Linked DNA regions of Homo sapiens: region 2 is linked to region 1. Evidence: promoter capture Hi-C in 16 types of primary human blood cells and fetal thymus (Javierre and others, 2016). All regions are on one chromosome and are shown on one strand. Each heading gives the region's core, a stretch centred on a gene start or on the middle of the fragment in contact. The rest is flanking DNA. Distances are from core to core; before and after follow the strand shown.

The links. Contacts are between HindIII fragments. The CHiCAGO score rates a contact against its expected background, and 5 or more counts as called.
Region 2: a contact is called between a fragment that was not itself captured here and the fragment with the promoter of CRYBG3 in region 1, in 5 of 17 cell types (non-activated CD4 T cells, naive CD4 T cells, total CD8 T cells and 2 more). The highest score is 8.5, in non-activated CD4 T cells.

What each region holds. Positions count from the first base shown.
Region 1 is chr3:97,819,198-97,823,878 of GRCh38, reverse strand. It overlaps CRYBG3 (crystallin beta-gamma domain containing 3), which reads right to left and starts at 1,868. Exons shown (of 22, transcript NM_153605.4): 1 at 1,524-1,868. The coding sequence starts at 1,672. It overlaps LOC101929298 (a long non-coding RNA gene), which reads left to right and starts at 2,103. Exons shown (of 3, transcript XR_427389.3): 1 at 2,103-2,192. RefSeq lists a silencer at 1,722-2,091. The HindIII fragment of the contact is 1,453 bases long and covers 1,038-2,490 here.
Region 2 is chr3:98,324,491-98,329,478 of GRCh38, reverse strand. No RefSeq gene overlaps it. Among named protein-coding and RNA genes, the nearest start is that of OR5K4, 27 kb to the left of the region's middle. RefSeq lists enhancers at 1-280, 281-1,018, 2,447-3,045, 3,655-4,854 and a silencer at 2,380-2,439. The HindIII fragment of the contact is 5,045 bases long and covers 1-4,434 here.

The DNA of each region.
Region 1 (4,681 bases), core at 619-3,118:
CTTAAAAAGCCAAAATAGGGCAGAGAGGCAAGCAGGATTTCAGGCCATTACTGACATGAGCCTGAATTTGACCTGCTTACTCCTTTCTAACACTGACTCTCAAGTTCCCAACTTTTGCTGCGCCTACTTGGGATTTCCTTGCAGACTGCGTTCATATTATCCAAGACTGTTAGTGCTGTTACGGCGGTGGCAGGCACCACAGGCTGTCTGCCCACACCAACAGAACTAGCTGACACCCTGGATGAGATCTGTCAGACTTAAAAACTATTTTTAACTTCTGTGTAACTTTGAATTTTAAACTCTCAACAGTCAGAGCAATAATAGCTGAAACGTCCCAGGAGAATAACCACTCAATTATCGTAGGAGCTTTCTTGGAAACATGTGGCATGTTATTAACAGACGGTCATAATGAAAATGTTTCACAAGCGGGGAAACCGAGGAACACACAAACGACTAAAATCACATCACAAAATCTGAATACTAATGGAATTGGCTCACTCTCAGTTCTGTTTCCTATCCATTTTTTTTAAGCCCACCAGGAAATCTTGAGTCCGAAGTAAACACGGTTTTCTGGAGTGTGTCCTTCCAATGACAATGGTCATTCTAGTGCAATCTCGGGAGAAGACAGTGTAAGCCTCTCATAAGTTTAAGAAAGCGAGCTGCGTTTTACTTAACCCCTCTTTCTTCGGGGGGATGAAAAGACTCAGAAACAGGCATTTAAATGAGGCATGTCTAAAATTTTTTGATTTTTGAACATGGGAAAGTGAAGGAAAGATAAAAATATTACAGAGAAAGGGTACATTTTGATTACTGAAACCAAGACAGCTGGAAACCTGATTTCCAGAATCTGTTTGGGAACTTGAGGCAGATGTTTCTAGGAGAGATGAGAAATAAAGAAGGGTGGCGTCATTTACATGTCCAGTCCATTTTGGTGAAAGTCTTGGGAACGCATTATCACAATTCCTTTTAAAAATCATTTTGAGAAAATTTAAATAAGATGGCAAAAATACCAGCTGAGGGGGTGACGCCCCAAAGCTTTACCTTTTCCACTTTTGCCCCGATCTCCTCCCACACAAGTGGTGCTGGGATCGCGCCCCCAATTCCCCTGGCCGACGGCTCCGCTCGGCTCACAAGTGTTTCCCATTACTGCAGGCGGGACGCCGGGGAAATCGCTTTTGCCACAGAACTTGGAGAGTAGAGCGTGTGTGGAACGGGAACCCAATCACGTCCGGGCAGGGGAAAGTGGGAAAGGAAGAGCGCGGAGCCAGGCGGGGATCGGGGGATATGCGTCCGGCTGCCGGGCAAGAACTTCACCCCGATTTAACCTGCAGAGGAGAGGCGAGTAGTGCGGCACGGGAACGGGGCAAGGAGGAGGAAACTTTAGCAATGGAGGAAGGAGAACAGAAAGTGGCGAGCGAACTGCAGCCTGGCCCAAGAGCGGCCCGCTGCCGGCGGTCAGGCCGGGAGCCTTCATCCCGCGAATATGTGCAGGGCCCCCCCGCGACCCCCTCCTCGACTCCCACCTGGCAGCGGACCGGCCTGGAGCTGGAGGCGGGCTCGTCCCCGGCCTCTCCTCCTCTTCCTCTTCCTTGTCCCGGGAAGGACTTCGGGGAGCGAAGAACCGGGAGAAGCTGTGCCAGGGGGCGCTGCCCCTTCTGCGGCCGCTGGACATTTCCCGAGGGGGCCGCTGGCCCGGGGCTGTCTGAAGGGAACGGCCTAGGTGTTGCCTGGTGCCCGGAGCCCGACCGGGCGCCGCGGGATGCGGCTAGGGCAGACCGACTCGACGCGAGCTGCCAGCGCGGCTCAGTCTCTCTCGGGCAGGAGAAGTGCGGACGCGACGCGCTCCTCGCGCGGCAGCTCCTCACGCCGCTGCGGCTGCTCCTCCTCCCGCCCTCGCCCGGCGCGGCCCGCCCCACCCCGAGGAGGAGCCAGTGGCCGCGGCACCGCCCTGAGCCGGGCGCAGCCGCCACCGCTGGGGCGCTACGTGGTCCCCCGAAGGCGCCGGCCTGAGAGCCTGAGGGGAGTCGCCCAGCGTGCGACGCTAGGCTCGGGCTTACGGCTCAAACAAGTTCAGGCTGCAGCCTGTTGGGCTTTGCCTTCAATTACTTTCTGTGACCGTTGTGTTTTCTATTCTACAGTCAGAGCACAGAAACGGTTTTCTTCGGGCTTTTGAAAGAGGTTTATGAACTAAGGTTTGTGAAAACACTTGGCAAACTGCAGTACCGGGGCGCCCCGGACTTGCTGGGAGCTAAGAAACAGCTACCGCAAATACAGCTCCAACCCTGAGGGCGAAAGTCGCGTTAGCACAGAACCGGGCGGCGGGAGGGAGAAGGGGGTACCTGTCAGGCGGTCACCACCTCCCGGCGCGTTCTGCTGGCTTTCTGTGGTGTGACTTTTCCTAACCGCGCTGTGCTTCAGACTTTTCACACGCCATACTTCCCTGCGAACTCTTTCAAAAACGGCACTGATCAAAAAGTATGATTTCAAGCTTGTCAATGCTGCAACATATTTTGCAGTCGTTACACAGATGCCACTGAAATCTGGGAACCAAAGGGTGCTTAAGACTTGTTTTAAGTCTAAGTACAGTGGTATGGATTTTTCTTGGTTTTTCATACCCTATAGCAGCTAGTACAGGAGATACTGAGAGGCCCATTCACCCCAAGTGTTTTGTTTTTGTTTGAAGGCAAGCTGCCCCTGGAGTAGACGTCAAGGAAGTGATATGGCTTTTGTTCATTAAAAAATGTATACAAGTAAATGAGATAAAAATGAAATGTCCACAGCAGAGGGGAGCCTTGGAGTAATCTCCCCTCTGGCTTTCGGGTGCTGGAGGAGAAGGTTGCTCATAAGTAGATTGCATACCTATAAGCCCCAAGTCCTTTCAGCACCTGCTGGAGGCTATTGAGCCTCCCTGCCTCCCCACGCTGCCTCCCAGAAGCCCTCCAGCTCCTACTAACTGCAATAGAGCCAAGACACTCATTCTCATTTGTTCTGGCAGGATTTAACCCATTAAAGTTCAGTCAGCCCGATTTCCATCAATCGGGTTCATCTCAGTCTATCCCTCAAGATTAATCCTTTTTTACTCTTTGGTAAATTTTTCCTATTTCTCTGTGAGCCTAGTCTGAGAAAATAGAAAAAGACTAAGATAATAGACTAGAATAAGACAAGTTCCCAATTCTAGCTTTATTATTTTATAAGAGAATCTCCACTGAAGACCCACTTACCAAAAAGCCCAAAGAGAGTAATAAAGCAAACTGTTTCTTCCAGCTAAAAGGCCCAAATGATAATTTGTCTTCCCAACGTATTATTGAATGACTATCACATTTGTCCCTGACTTGTTCTGTGATCAAACCAGGCCCCAGTGCCTACCCAGAGGGTACTTCGTTCAGGAAGTTTTTCTTGGAATAAAAATGGGGGGGAGTCAATAGGATTTAATTAATGAATTATGGTTTTAACTAATAATATATCTAACAATACTCTGATCTCCACTCGGTAGCACAGCAAAGCACTTAAGTGAATGGTAAATACAAATAATGCCATGTTTACACTAAGACAAATTGCGTCTATGACAAAATAGCTTAAAGTCATAAAACAATGACCATTGAATTTTCCTTCATTTGCTTTCTGAGCACTTATTAGTTTTCTATATGTCCTACATTGTTATAACCTGAACTCATATGAACAAATTTCTAAATACTAAATTCTAAGATTGCATTAGGAAGCCTGTAAAAATGTCAAATTTTAGAGCTGTAAGGATCTTAGAGATACTAATTTAGCACAGTGTCATTAATTCACTGATCCAGTTATTCCCCGACGTTTAGTGAGTGCCTGCAGTAGAAGCACATCTACAGTGAAGCCGATGAGGCTCAAGTTTCTTGGCTCCCTGCTGGCACAGTCTCTTCCAGTGTGAACTCAGCAATGGGATCCATGGCCAGTTTTATCAAATTTACAAAAGTAAATGTTTTAATGTGATTAAGACCACAATCTCTTTTTTTTTCCACTTAGATGTCCACTTAGATTTTCTTTTCCACTTAGAGTTATCAAGAGCATTTGGGAATCTGCTAGGGAATTTCAGTTGGGAATATATTTAGTTTGGACTTAGTGGAATATATTTATGTGGTTTCCAGCCTCTCCAAAGTATAGTTATTTCTTAAATTCCAATTTGTTTGTAGCGCAGCTCACCAAGTATTACACCCAAGATGCAGAGCCAGAGGAGATATATTCTGTGGTCTCTGACACTGAAAATATGTGGGTAATAGAGGTGAGACAAGATTTGAAAGGTAAAGCAGCATCAGGTGTCATGTGGAAAATTATTCCAGGCATCAGAAGACAAAGTTTCAACAGGAAGGATTGCCTCCGATTGATGTAATTTCTCTCATAGCAATAATATATTCAATAATGCAGTATATTTAATTTTTTTTTTGAGACAGAGTCTGGCGCTGTCACCTTGGCTGGGGTGCAGTGGTGCAATTTCAACTCACTGAAACCTCCGCCTCCTGGGTTCAAGCAATTCTCCTGTCTCAGCCTCCAGAGTGGCTGGGACTACAGGCGCCCACCACCATGCCCAGCTAATTTTTGTATTTTCAGTAGAGACGGGGTTTGACCATATTGGTCAGGCTGGTCTCGAACTCCTGACCTCAGGTAATCCACCCGTCTCAGCCACCCAAAATAATTTTTATAACTG
Region 2 (4,988 bases), core at 663-3,162, 510 kb before region 1:
ATAGGCTGCACCCTTACCAGACCAGCCCTGTGGAGCCAGACACAGCTAGGTCCCACACCAGCCTTCGAATCTGTGCAACTCAGCCCTCTCAGTCTTCCGAGAGAGTGTGGGATCCTCCTCCTTTCAAGTGCAAAGCACAGATTCCACCTTGGCACTCCTGAGCCCACATCCTTGGGGCGCCAGGACCTGTTCTCAGCTCCCTCCTTCGGATGCTCAGGGTTGGGTTCCAGGTGTGGTGCGTGATTGCAATGGCTCCCAGCTGGAACGCACTCAGGTGGAGCAAAGCATCTAGGCTGGGTAGTGGAGGTTGCACTGTGTAACTGCTCCTTCCAGGCAGCCAGGCAGGGGCTCTGGGAGGGTCTGGTGCTCAGTCAGCCTGCAGAACAGATGTGCCCCAGGCCCACGGGGAAGCAGGCCCTGCTTTCTCCCAGGGGTTACCTGGGGCTAGACTTTCTCAGAGGCAGACAGGCAGCCCTGGCTGGTGGGCTTTCATGACTGGGTTCTGCTGGAGCTAACCTGTGCTCTGCTCCATCTAATCTCTGAGAGATCCCCCTTGCCAGCTCACACATCCTAGGGGTGTGGGGCCCCTGTATTAGGTTCCCAGAGGTTTGTGGTGAGAGTGGGCAGTCCTCCAGTCCTCTCACGCACCGCTTCCTCAGGTGCTGTTCAGGGCTGGGAACCAGTTATAACATTCAGGCATCCCATGAGGAGTTCCCAGCTCCCTCCCTCTTCAGCCTCAGCAACTGCATCTTTTCTGTATCCATATTTGGCATTTTCTCTGCAAATAATCTGTTCAAATTATGTTGGTGTAGTTGAAATCATTGTCTTTTCCTGTGGGAGTAGCACTTCAGCTCCATCTAGTTGGCCACCTTGGTAAAACCTAAATTTTTAAAAATTAAATACCTTTTACTGTGCCAAATAGCCTTCAGGAAAGGGAAACTGGAATCAGGCACACTAACAAGGAAACTTAGTTACTATTGTCCAATGTGTCTCAGACAAGATTATATATCAGAATAAACTGGGTACCTTTTTTTGTGCAAAATATGGATTATAAGGTATTACTGTAGAAATAGTAGTTCAACAAGGAGGCCTAAAAGTCTCCATTTTTAACATGCTCCCCAGGTGACTCAAATGCATGCAAAGTGCTTAGTCCTTGTGTGATATGACTTTGGGGGTGATAAGGAGGACAAGGCAATAGATTCAAAAGAATTTAAAATGTAGTGTCATAAGGACTTAATGACATTTTGGATATGTAGGGGGTGACCAATGAAGGAGAATGGAATTATATGGGCTGGGCAGATGGCCATCAAAAACGCAGATTGAGAGCTCAGATGCATTGGCAAATTTGTGGAAGGAGAATGTAAAAAGTAAAGCAGAGGTTCCTCTTCAAAGACTTTCCTCCCCGTCTAATTAGGAATAAATAGTAACTTCTCTTAGAAGCAAAATGTATTCAAAGACCTGTGCTAACATTCTTAAATATCTGCTAGCCATAATAAAGAAATCAACGTACTTTATGTTCTTAGCTTCCACAATTTAGCCTAAATATTTGCCCTGGCATACTTATACTGGTCCAAGCAAGCGTTAGGTCATAGCCTGTTCCTCTTCCTTATTTAAAAGTGTTTTTACCTTTCTCAACATTCCACAAGTGACTTCCTCCTTTCTTTGTTCTCCTCTACCTTTGCCTCTTTTAAAAAGTTCTAAGTTGCTAGCCAATCGGGACAAATACAGAATGTGAGGTCCTGTTCCAGCCCACGGAAACCCGACACAGCAGTAGGGTGGATGCGTCAGGATGCATCTCCTTTTTTTGGTGTACTCTTGTGGCAGAACTGCTGGTGAGTGTACCGTTTCTACAGGAAGTAAAAATGACCTTACTAAATAAATTAAATTTATGTTCAAGTGCTATTTCTTTATGGCACGGGAACAAGCATTTCAAACAGAGAATCATCTGAATATCCAGGTCAGATGAACTTAGTAGTATGAATTTACTGGAACTTACTAGAAATAATGACTTGGTTTGGAGTAGATGAAGGAATCATTATGGAAGACCTAGCAATTGGAGAGTACACAAAGTGGAAGGAAAAACTCAAGGAAGTTGTATTACAGAGGTGATAATATGTATATGCCTCATTTATTAGAATTATTAGCCATCCCCTTTTCATCTACATGTGTCTTGGTGGTGGGAAGAAGTTACCACCCATTCTAGAAACCAGAGAGGTAGAAACACACTTTCACATTTATCTTGCACCTAGAGTGAAACACTTGATCTGAGTTTGGCCAGTCAAATTGTAACTGCCAGAGGGCTTCTTCCTGCTTGCTGCACAAACAAAATCAATTCACAGAGATGATGGCATTGCAGTAAAGGAAGAGTTTAATAGACATCAGGCCAGCTACACTATGTGGGAGACAAAGTTAGTACCCAGATGAATCTCCCCAAAGGCCTGTAGTTAGGGGTTTTTCAGTGGCAGTTTGGGGGAAGGAGTGGGGGTGGCCAGGTAATGGGTGCTTACTGCTGATGTGTTGGGTCAGAGATGAAATCGTAGGGGTTTGAAGCTGTCCTTCTGTGCATTGAATCACTCTGAGTGGGGCCACAGGAGATGGGTTGGTGGGTCCAGGTGGAGCCATGGGTGTCAGACATGCAAAAAAACCTGAAAAGATATCTCAAAAGGCCAATCTACAATACTGGTATTATTTGCAGGAATGGTTGGCAATCATTTATGTCTATACCTTAGCAGAATTCAGATTCCTCTCCTCCCCCAACCTGAGGGCCTTTCATTAGCTTTACAAAGGTTGTTGAGTTTTGGGGAAGGCCTATTATCATTTAAACTATTAACTAAATGTCTGTCAAAGTTAGTTCAGCCCAAAATCCCAGGAATAATTAAGGGAAAGGCATAATGGGAGGTGGGTTAGATAGATCTCTTTTACTGCCATAATTTTCTTACTGTTATAATTTCTGCAAAGACGGTTTAAAAACCAACCCTCCATAGTTTTGCAATTTGGAGAGGGAAGATAAAGGTACAGGAACAAAAGAGAATTTGGTAGCAAAGGCAGCAATGACAAGACTCTAGCTAATGCATCCTTGACTTTGGCAACAGTGGCATCAGCAGTGGAGGCTGTGGCACCCAAGTTCAGCAGCAGGAAGAACAGCCCTCATCAGCTAGTGTTGGAACGTGGCTTTAGCTGTTGACTGGCTGTCTTGCTTCCTTCTGTTTCTGCCTATTTTTCCAGCTGATCCTCCAACTTCCTTAGCATTTCTATTTTAGACAGATTTCCATGTAATAAACTTACTTCCTGTTGTAACTGAGAATCCTGGCTCAAACAAAAGAGAGACAACAAAGAGACCAGAAAAAGATACTGAAGGAAGTGATCAGAGAAGCAGGAGGGAAACTGGAAAGCTGAGAGTTGTAGACATAAAGAGGGAAGGATACTAAAGAAAGACAAAATATAGTACAGGGCTAAATGCCAAAAAAAAATGCTACAGCAAGACAAGGAGTGAGAAGAGATCTTTGAGTGTGAAAATTAAAAGATTTTTAGTGATGTTAGTAGAGCACTTGCGTCAGAGTTAAGGTCAGAGAGTAATTCAAAATAAATGGGAAACAATGGAAAATGCTACAGAAAGCTCCATGAAATGTGAAGAATGGTTGGCATGTTTTTACTGCCCATAGACAAATGTAAAAAAGAATTTCCCATAGAACAATTTAATAAAAGTTTTCAAAGGAAGAGAGGAGAGGAATACATTTAAAGGAGAAAGGGGACAGAGAAGTGGAAAGAGAATTTGGGTAGGTGAAAAGAAAACAAGATGGAGAACAGAGAAATAAGCAGAGAATTATGGGGTCGTAAATGGAAAAGTGCAGGAAAGACAAGCCAGAGAAGCAGAGGGGAAATACCAGAGAAAGACTGAAGTGGAAAAAAATGGAAAGGCTCAAAGGCTTTAAGATAAATATTTATCCTAATGAAGCGGCATTGTTTGTCTGGGGTAATATCTGAGGTTCGTTGCCTCATGCCAAGGAAAACAAGGACGCGGACACACCAGAGTGAAGTTAAGAGCAGAAGTTTAAAAGCAAAAGAAAGAGAAGAGCTCTCTGCGCAGAAAGGGGTCCCGGAGAAAAATGGGTTGCCAGTTTCATGGTTAAGTGCACAGGGTTTTGTAGAGGAGCTTGAGGAGGCAGCGTCTGATTTACATAGGGCACGAGAGATTGGTCAGGCCAGGTGTGCTGTTTGGATAGCCTGCAAAGAAGCTGGCCGCCCCACCCTAATCTTTTACTATGTATATAAGTTCTCTACCTGGCTGGCACCACGTTGCCTACTCCCTGACTGCACACGTGGTGACGAAGAAAAGCAAAGAAAACGGAAGATGGCGCCTCCATGTTGAACATGCCTGGCTCCCAGGTAGCCTATTCCTGTCGGCACAGCCGCCAGCATTTATCTATGCAAGCTTCCAGGTTGCTTATCTATGTTTGCAGCTTAATATTTCAGGCTGCTCTTTGTTAGAAAAGAAATGATTTGGGGGCTGCTTTTTATTAAAAGGGAAGCCTTGCCCAGGACTCCTTTACCCTCACTGTCTGCCTAAATAATTTCTTCTTAGCTCCTGTATCACTAACTTTGGTGTTAAAGTGTCAACTCTGGGAATCTTTTCTTCTCTTTTAATTCAAATTTCAAAGTTCATTTTCTGAGCAGAATTTGTGTTTGAAAGGGAGATCTGACTTTAAGTTTTACTTTACAAACTTCAAGTTTTTTATTAATATATTAGCATTATCTGAAAGTTCTTTCCATATTTAAAAGGTTATCATTGTGATTAGTTATTAAAACAGACTTTTTCTAGTAATTCTGCCGGTTTTACTTGAAAGCAACTTTTTCTCCCCCATTTTTATTAGCAAAAGAAAGTTGAGCCAAAGCCTTGAATCTTACTTAGGATATAATAAGCGGTGCTGATAATTCCAGTTGCTAAACGTATTTTTATTTGGAATAGGTCTTCCTCTGTATAATCCCAA